Regions from separate parts of the Homo sapiens genome. Here region 2 is linked to region 1. Evidence: promoter capture Hi-C in 16 types of primary human blood cells and fetal thymus (Javierre and others, 2016). All regions are on one chromosome and are shown on one strand. Each heading gives the region's core, a stretch centred on a gene start or on the middle of the fragment in contact. The rest is flanking DNA. Distances are from core to core; before and after follow the strand shown. Region 1 holds the start of H3C4 (H3 clustered histone 4). Region 2 has its middle 3.5 kb from the start of TRI-AAT5-2.

Evidence for each region. The method cuts DNA at HindIII sites, captures the fragments that hold promoters and counts their contacts. A CHiCAGO score of 5 or more calls a contact.
Region 2: a fragment that was not itself captured here is called in contact with the fragment with the promoter of H3C4 in region 1 in 2 of 17 cell types (naive B cells and total CD8 T cells); the score reaches 7.0 in naive B cells.

What each region holds. Positions count from the first base shown.
Region 1 is chr6:26,193,737-26,198,604 of GRCh38, reverse strand. H3C4 (H3 clustered histone 4) reads left to right here and starts at 1,319. Exons shown (of 1, transcript NM_001376937.1): 1 at 1,319-1,821. The coding sequence starts at 1,355. The coding sequence ends at 1,765. It also overlaps the pseudogene H1-12P. RefSeq lists enhancers at 98-157, 188-247, 990-1,590, 1,969-2,078, 1,591-2,192 and 1 more. The HindIII fragment of the contact is 2,796 bases long and covers 1-1,947 here.
Region 2 is chr6:27,178,367-27,183,140 of GRCh38, reverse strand. No RefSeq gene overlaps it. Among named protein-coding and RNA genes, the nearest start is that of TRI-AAT5-2, 3.5 kb to the right of the region's middle. RefSeq lists an enhancer at 4,696-4,755. The HindIII fragment of the contact is 7,682 bases long and covers 1-4,774 here.

The sequences.
Region 1 (4,868 bases), core at 70-2,569:
ATCCCAGGACTTTGGAAGGCCAAGGTGGGCGGATCACAGGGTCAGGAGTTCCAGGACAGCCTGACCAACATGGTGTGAAGCCCCGTCTTTACTAAAAATAAAAAAATTTGTCGGGCGTGGTGGCGCGCGCCTGTAATTTCAGCTATTTAAGAGGTTGAGGCAGGAGAAAATGTTGAACCCCGGAGGCGGAGGTTGCAGTGAGTCGAGATCGCGCCACTGCACTCCAGTTTCGGCGACAGAGCGAGACTGTCTCAAAACAAACAAAAACCCAAAAAAGCAAACTAATTAAAATGCAAAGAGACTTTATGTCACATGTAATTTAAATCGATCAATGCAGCGGCTCGTTAGGATTGCAAAGCTGTTAAAAGGCCTGAGACATACAGGAGAGAAGTTAATGTTTGTCAGTGTTTACATTTACATAAAAATATAGTTAGTGACTTAAAGCAACAGAACCAGAACAAATGTTTTATTGTCTTTTGTATGCATCTTAATGATACGAAATAACCTGTAATTTGTAAGTATTTTTTGGGTTTGTTTTTGCAAGCCACTTTCAACTCTACTGAGCTAACCCTAATTAATTATCAATAGGAATACAAACCTACATCCCCTGGAGCCAGACGGCCCTTAGGTGGAGCTTCTTAGCACAGTGTTCAGCATGACTAAAAGGGCACACTGGTCTTTTTGTGCCATTTATAAATTTGGCTTTTTTTTTTTTTTTTTTTTACAGCAGATTACACAAATACCAGTTGAACTTGTAAAAGATAAGAGTGCTTTCATATGAGGATGACATATTGTGGTGAAATTAAATGTGTTCATGTAGCTTAACATCAGGTTTCATATTGTTACTTATGAGTTAATAGTCATGGTGCATTTGGAACAAATTATTGAAAATATCTCCAAGTTTAAATAGACAAATCAAGATATGAAATTAACCTTTCTAAACTTAAGAGGGTAAAAAGAAATCACTTGGCCAATCACAACTAGCGCGCGTCTTTTTAAAACGTTGATCAAAGCCAGTTTCAGCGCCAACATTTAAAAAAAAATTAAGACACGTCATCCTAGTAGCTAGACACAATTTTGCCAAGGAAAACCAAAGTACGTTTTAAATAAAAGCTAGAAACATGGCACAGAGGGGAAAGGGTTGAAAACACCAGCAGTTAAAGATGGACGGAGGAAAGTTTTAATATTTGGTCTACATGCAGGAGATGTTCTGTCAGGGAGTGGGCGTCTCCACCAATCGAGCTGCAGGGGAAAGGCTGCCTTGTCCAATCAGAACAGGGGTGTCTTTATATATACGGGTACGAAAGGCTAGACTTTCGTTTTTTCGTCATTTAGCAGGGTTTAGAAGTTCGCAATGGCTCGTACCAAGCAGACTGCTCGCAAGTCCACGGGTGGGAAAGCGCCACGCAAGCAGCTGGCCACCAAGGCTGCTCGAAAGAGCGCTCCAGCCACCGGCGGCGTGAAGAAGCCCCACCGTTACCGGCCCGGCACGGTGGCTCTGCGCGAGATCCGCCGCTACCAGAAGTCGACCGAGCTGCTGATTCGCAAACTGCCATTCCAGCGTCTAGTCCGTGAGATCGCGCAGGACTTCAAGACTGATCTGCGTTTTCAGAGCTCGGCGGTGATGGCGCTGCAGGAGGCCTGCGAGGCCTACCTGGTGGGGCTGTTTGAGGACACCAACCTATGCGCCATTCACGCCAAGCGAGTGACTATCATGCCCAAGGACATCCAGCTTGCTCGCCGCATTCGTGGGGAGAGGGCGTAAATTGTCTTGTGAATGTGTGCTAACCAAAACCCAAAGGCTCTTTTCAGAGCCAACCACCTTTTCTATAAAAGTTGCTGTTTACTGTTGCTGTCCGTAAACTGGAACCTCTGTTCACTCAAGGTAAGTAAGCATTCTTGCCTCTATCCGTTCCCCCTCCCCTCACGGAATTGGTGCAAAAAGCTTTATTATAATTGGGGAGTTCTTAAAACAGCCTTTAAGGTACTCTTATATCTCCTTGTTTTGGGGGCCGCTTTCTTAGGCTTGGATGCCTCCGGCTTGGGAACTTTCTTGGCCACCTTTGACCAACCAACCTTCTCCAGCAGCCTCCACCAGCAAAAGCTTTTGGGGTCCGCTTAGTACTCTTTTTCGGAATAAGGACGCCCCAAGCTTTCTTGGGCCTCTCGGCTGCCAGGACAGCTGTCTTGGGCATGACTGCAGCGGCTTTTCTGGCCTCGGTCTTGATTTTCCTAACACTGCCTGGTTTGGCGGGAATGAACCTGAGGCGCTGCACTCCTTAGCACGAAGATGCCCTCGTTTGTTTTCAAGGCCCAACTTTATTCAAATAATTTTTAAAAATTTGTATTTATTTTTAGGGACGAGGTCTCACTGTGTTACCCAGGCTGGCCTCAAAACTCCTTAGCTTGGCCAGGCGAGGTGGCTCAGGCCTGTAATCACAGCACTTTAGGATGCCAAGGCGGGCGGATCACGTGATGCCAAGAGTTCGAGACCAGCCTGCCCAACACATTGAAACTTCGTCTCTACTGAGAATACAAAAATTAGCCGGGTGTGGTGGCACACGCCTGCAGTCCCAGCTACATGGAAAGCTGAGGCAGGAGAAGGGCTTGAACCCGGGAGGCGGAAGTTGCAGTGAACCGAGATCACACCACTGCACTCCAGCCTGGGCAGCAGAGCTAGACTCCTTCAAAAAAAAAAAAAAAATCCCCAAGGACAAACAAAACCACCAAAAACAACTCCTTAGCTTAAGAGATTCTCCCGCCTTGGCCTCACAAAATGCTGAGATTACAAACGTAGGCCACCGCGACCGGCAAGGGCCGATCTTCATATCGTAGCCGCCAACACCTACTTGAGCGCGGCCACAGAGAAGGCCGCTGCGCTTCTTGGAGACGGCTAAGTCATTAGTGATGAACTCACATACCGGAGGGGCCTGGACATCTTGCACTTCACTGCAACTTCGGACTTGCAACCTTTTTCTTTACTTCAGTCTTTGACTTGGGAGATAGACCAGGAGTCACGGCATGTACAGTTTCGGACATGATTGTAGGTTTGGATATCTAACAGTTAAAAAAAAAAAAAGTCAGGCTGCGAGTGTGTCTGTGATTACGTGTGTGTCACACACAGACACGCTGCGCGCTGATTGGTTCCCAGCTCAGTCTTTCAGCTTGGCAGCAACCTAGTCTCAACCCTGTTTCTGAGTTGTGTTTGCGGAAATTCAGAAAATCAAAATAGTTTAAATTTCCTGAGGAGGAATCACACCAATTCTATTCTACAATGAACTGGAACGGCTACGGTGTTATGATCTTTACATTTTCTTTCTCTAGTTTTTACTTAAGGCAGCCTCGGCCTTTATCAAAAGTTCCAACTTTCAGAGATTCACAGTTCAGAGGGACAACTTCTTGATTTTCATTTAAAATATAAATTCTTCCATTCGTGTCTTCAATTGTTTGCTGTCTTCTAATAATAGCCTACACATTTTTGGCTTCTCATACATTGAACAACTACTTGATTTTCATTGAGATTTAACGAGGAAATCTGTTTTATATGAGAAGAGAAACAACAGGTTCTTTTTGAATTTCTCCACAAGAACAGCAGTACGGATACTTAGAACAACAGCCCTTTCTGATAAAATTAGCTGGGGCTGAAAATATTTCATGATAGCTTCTTGTAACTATTTGGACGTTTAGTTACTTTGGGAGGGTTCCAGTAAATGTTCAACGTTTCCTTGGGAAAATGGGAAATACAATGATCACTGATTCTCCTGATATTGGGACTGTTTGCATAGCTGAACTCAGGAGAGATCCACGAAAGGACATAAAAGAGACAGAGTTTGACTCATTTAAGGGTCAAAAAAAAATTTTTTTTTTAAATTTTTACTGGGGGAAATTTGTTATTAAAATATTCATGAGTCTTTGGGTTCAGGGGTCTGTCATGCTTGGTGACACGGGGAAAATAGACTTTGGTAAACTATTCAAGTACCAGGATCAAAGAATATACACACAAGCACCACACACACACAAAATTCCCTAGAGAGAGAAATTTAAAAAACAGCCATGTTTCATATTCAGTACTACATTTCTTGTTTAAACAAGGATATAGGCTTATAGTGATGAAGTACAGCTTATGTTCGATATGAGAAGAAAATGGAGTGATGGCAGAAAGTGAATTAACTGATTTTCTTCACTCCTCAATGTCTTGAACGTATGCTGATCTGGGGAGCATATACATTTCTGTTTTACTAAGACTATGAAGGAGATAAATGCTGGGAACAGACAGAGTAAAGCCCAAAAGGTGAGGGTTTCACACTTTTTGATCTCATCAAAATACAAATGACTTCATGTAGCAAATTAAACTAGGACATGAACAAATTAATAAATGTTAATAAAAATTAAAATCAAATGTTTGAGATGAGACATGAGCTAAATATGAATCACATTTACTTTGAGTGTGTATTCACTTTTTATGGAGCCCATGTATTTCTAATCTTAAAATGGCTTTGACCCATTTTATATTTATATTTTATACTTATATTTGATTTCCTGGAGCACCAACAAAGGAAGAACTGACTTGTAGCCTTCCAACTGCAGGAATTCTCTGAGGTACTGTCCTATTTGCCTTCATGGGTTTGTGAGTTAGTTTCTTACAGGTAACTAAAGTCTCTCCCTTCAGGCCTGTCCTCTTGCCTAAGTATCAAAGTTGGATTTCTGGATGGTTGCTGGATATCTGCTTGTTCATCTTCTATACCAGACTCTCAGTATGACCATCCTTATCTAAGTAGCTTCTGTCTAAGATTGCTGGATATTGGCTTCATTGTTTACGTATATCACACCCTCAACATATCCAACCACATCTAGGAAGCAACCTTTCA
Region 2 (4,774 bases), core at 237-2,736, 980 kb before region 1:
GGACAACTGCAATCTCTTCCGGCAGCTGAAGATTTTCTAGCACTTGCATAATTAATTCCTTGTGGGCCAAATCTTGGCCCTTACTATTGATGAGGCCTCGTTCAGTCCAGATCTTTTCCGAAGGCATACTTGGAGTAAGTGTAAATAGTTCCTTCCTGATTCTGCAGGGATTTTAAGGCTTGGTTTAATGCAAAGAGTTCACATATTTGGGCAGACCACTTATTTGGCAGTCTTTCTGACTCTACCACTGTGAGGGTTTCCCTATCAACTATGGAGTACCCGTTGTGCCTTTTTCCTTCAATGACCTGGGAGGAGCCGTCTATAAAGAGGTGATGCCCTGTTTGGAAGGGGGTTTCATGCCTGGATGCGGTCTGACTCTAGTTTGAAAACTGATTAGATCTAAGCAGTTATGCTCACATTCCTCCTGGTTTGGATTTCCTGTTAGGAAAGCAGCGGGGTTGAGTGAATTGTCAGTGGTTAGTGTTAGGTTATCTCCCTCTAATAAGATAGCTTCATATTTTAAAATCCTTGAGTCAGTGAGCCATCTCCCTGCCTTCTGATTAAGAATGGTTCTGACTTGATGAGGGGCACTTACGAAGAGGTTTCCCCCAAAGGTTATTTTCCTGCTTTCTTCTGTTAGCAAGGCAGTTGCTGCTATGGATTGAACACATTCGGGCCATCCACGGGTTACTGGGTCAAGGATTTTTGACAGAAAGACTACAGGCTGCCGGTGGCCTCCATGTTTTTGGGTGAGTACCCCTAAGGCCACTCCTTTGCTTACATTAATGAAAAGATGGAATGGCTGTTCTAAGGAGGGCAAAGTTAGAACAGGGGCAGTTACAAGTAGGTGTTTTAATTCTTTTACCGTTGGATCTCTGATGGGGTCCAAAGGAGGGGGTCTGGTCCTTCTTGAGTGAGTTTTTGATATAGGGGCTTTGTTTTTAAGGCATAAGAGTCAGTCCACAGATGACAATATCCAACCAATCCTAATAATTTCCTAAGTTCCTGCTTTGTTTCAGGTAAAGGCAAAGACAGGATACCTTCAATTCGTTCGGATCCTATCTTTCGTTCACCTTTACTGATTAGGTGTCCTAGATATTTTACCTCAGATTCTATGAATTGGATGTTGTTCTTTGAGACCCGTAATCCTTGTCCCCTTAGGAAATTTAGGAAGTTAACTGAAATTGCTGTTACTTGATCCTTGTTATCTCCTGAAATGAGCAGGACATCTACGTATTTGAGTAGGCATATGGATGAAGGCAGGGAGAAGTTTTCTAGGACTTGCTCTAAAATATGACCAAATAGATTTGGGGACTCTGTAAACCTTGGGGCAAGACTGTCCATCGACCGGAGTGAGGGTCCTCTCACTCAAAGGCAAATTTGTCCCAGCTGTCCTCTGCTAAAGGGCAAGCCCAAAAGGCATCATTTAAATCTGTCACCGTGAACCATTGGTGGTTATGCGGGATTCTACTGAAAATGGTGTAAGGATTGGGAACAACAGGGTGGATGGTCTGAACTATTTGGTAAATAGCCCAGAGGTCTTGCACTAGCTGGTATGACCCGTCTGACTTCCTTACAGGCAATATTGGAGTGTTATAAGGGGACATACAGGGTTCAAGTCTTTCAATTACAGGTTTTAAAACTATCCTGGTTTTAAACCTATCCTGGCTTCCAAGGGAATAGGGTATTGTTTTCGTGGACAAGGCTTTCAATTATAGGTTATAAACCTATCCTGGCTTCCAAGGGAATAGGGTATTGTTTTTGTTTCACTATTTCCCCAGGAGTTTTTAATTTGACATGGATTGGAGGAACCCATCCTCGATTCCCTTCTTTCGACCATACGTTGGGATGGATGCGGCTTTCTTCTGAAGTGGTGAGTACGTTTAAGGAAGTAAGGAGTTTTCCTTGATTAACATATAGGCCTGTGCCTAACCTTAACATTAAGTCCCTTCCTAATAAATTAGTTCCTGCTTCAGGAATTAAGAAGAACTTAGTAGCAACCGACTTATTCTTATATTTGACTTCGGTTTCCTCTAGAATTTTTGCTCTGAATCCTTCCCCTTTAACTCCTGAGACAGTAAGGTCTTCGGCTGAACAGGATAAATCTGATGGGAGAAAACATAGGCAGGAGCCAGCTGCTCCCGAATTGACCAGGAAAGTGACTATTTCCAATTTGGGTCCCACCGTTAAATTTATCAAGGGCTCTTGGTGGGACTCAAGATGGAAGACGTAGAGCCCCTGAGCCCACTGTTCTTCAAATGTCATGAGTGAAAGGACTTTCTTTTCCCTCTCCCATTCGGGACATTTCCTCTTAAAATGTCCTGGCTTTCCACATCTGAAACATCTGTTTTTCCTTCTCCCCCTCCTGGTTCCCTGATTCTCAGGTTTCGTCCCTTTGCTTCCTGTATAGGGTCTGGCAGCCTGGTACTCAGAAGGTTTACAAGTTCTATTTCCCTGGGATGCCTGTTGAAAAGTTCCCTGTTGTAGGGTGGACAGCATAATTTTTGCCTTTTGCTTCTGCCTTTCCTCATCCCTCCGTACATATACCTTTTGGACCTCTCTTTAAAGTTCCTCTATGGGACAGTCTTTCTAATTTTCTATCTTTTATAATTTCTTTATAGTGTCTGGCCAACTATTGGTGACAAAGTGGAGCTTTAACATCCTTTGTCCTAGTGGGTCCTCTATGTCCAAACCTGCGTATTTTCTTATCTGTTCCTTAAGTCTGTTTAAGAATTCCATGGGCCCTTCATCTTTCTCTTGCTGTACATTAAATGCTTGGGAAATGTTTTGGGTTGGAGGAACTGATTCCTGAATCCCTTTAATTATCATATCCCTATCTCTCATGTTTTCCCGGTGAGCCGCACTGTTGTTATCCCATTGAGGGTCCTGGGCCGGGAATTTATGCTCTGCTGCAAGGACATTCTGACGAGGGGGGTGCTTGCGCTCCCAGGCTATCATAGCAGCCTTGCAGATCATGGTTCTTTCCTCTCCTAAGAAGAGAATACCTAGAATAGACATCAATTCAGCCCAGGTATACAGTTGTGGCCCCATAAATTGGTCAATTTGATCTGAGACTCCAAAAGGGTCATCTAACAGTGGTTTGAGTCTCCTTTTTAGATTTCTAACTTCTTCACTAGCTAAGGGGGGCATTTACGAAGCCAATATCCCCTCCTCCTAGTGGTACTTCCCTCAAGGGAAAAAAGGTTGGGGCAGACTTCTTTGAAGAGAGGAAAGGAAAGTTTTGAATATCCCTTTGGCATTGTTCTATTTGCCACTGGAGCTTTCCTAAGGGAGGGGCATGTTCGAGTGGCTGTCCAACGGGGGTGTGTGGTGTCAAGGCCCATGGGGCAGGGTTATATGGGGGAGGGACGGAGTTTTAGCTTGGGGCAGAGGGGTAGGTGCGGGAAGGGCTGTTGTTCAGTCGGGGCGGAGAGGTAGGCAGGGGAAGGTGGTCTAGAGGATCCCGTGCATCTTTGGATATAGAATATGACTTAGCTAGGTCGTCTTTGGGGGGTTTTGAGTTTGGCTTTGCTTTTTCGTCCTTTAAGGGATAGAGAAGGACAGGTCCTTGTCTCCAACATAGAGCATAATCTATCTCCTCTTGAGAAACTGGGCTTTTATCATTGACATACTGGATCAGGAGTTGGCATATCCAGTCCTCGTCCCACCCAAACTTTGGCCAAAAGACCGAAGGTCTGAGGATGGGTTCCTTAGTCCAAATAAAACAGCAGTACTTTATCATTTGCTGTCTTTTCTTGTGTTTGGTCCTTTCATTATCCTTCCAGTATTTTAACATTAGGCCTAGGGGACTGTGAGGGAAATTTTATTGTCTGCTTGGCCTTTTAGAGTCTCTGTCTTACTTGGGGTTATTTCCCATCCTGGAGGTTGGTGAGGCTTAATATATAATATTAGAGATCTCTTGCACTCCCGTGTCTTAGAGGCTCAACCTCCCCTTTTTCCACTGGAGGTTTCTTGCACTCTCGTGAGCACTCACTTCGTCCTTATTGGCTGCTTCCCTTGCGGGAATTTTAGGCACCTCTTAGCATTGGCGGGTAGGTGGAATCCCCTGATTGGAAAACCGCCCTAAGCCGTATGAGGTGACCACGGAACCAAGTCCGGACTCCGCACTCGCCTTGCGCCCAGTGGTATGTCTCACTCACACACTTTAAAACTCCAGAGACCCCAACCACCAAGGAAGGCTTTGCCGCCCCAATAGCAACGTTTCTTACCTTGGTCTGTGCACAGAGTTACCTGTGGTCGCCATGGAATTCTTTTTTTTTTTTTTTTTGAGACGGAGTCTCGCTCTGTTGCCTAGGCTGGAGTGCAGTGGCATGATCTCGGCTTACTGCAACTTCTGCCTCCCGGGTTCAAGTGATTTTCCTGCCTCAGCCTCCCAAGTAGCTGGGACTAAGGGCGCGCACCACCACGCCCGGTTAATTTTTGTATTTTTAGTAGAAACGGAGTTTCACCGTATTGACCAAGCTGGTCTCACAGAATTCTTAAGGATCCTCCCTACTGTCCGCGTTGCTGAGAGTCCGGATTTATTCGTCACTTCGGGCGGGACTCGATCCTCCGCTCCTGGGGCCACCACGAGGCAATGGGACGCGTCTCCCCATGAAAGATAATCGCTAGCCCCTCCCGAAGGAGAATGGGATCCCGGACGAGTCCCTAAGATTTACTGGAAACAAGTGCTTGGTGTAGCCAAAAGAAACCCTCACTTAGAAAATTCCTCAGCAAGGCATCTTTACTTCTGCAGAAGGGTGCTCCTTGCCTG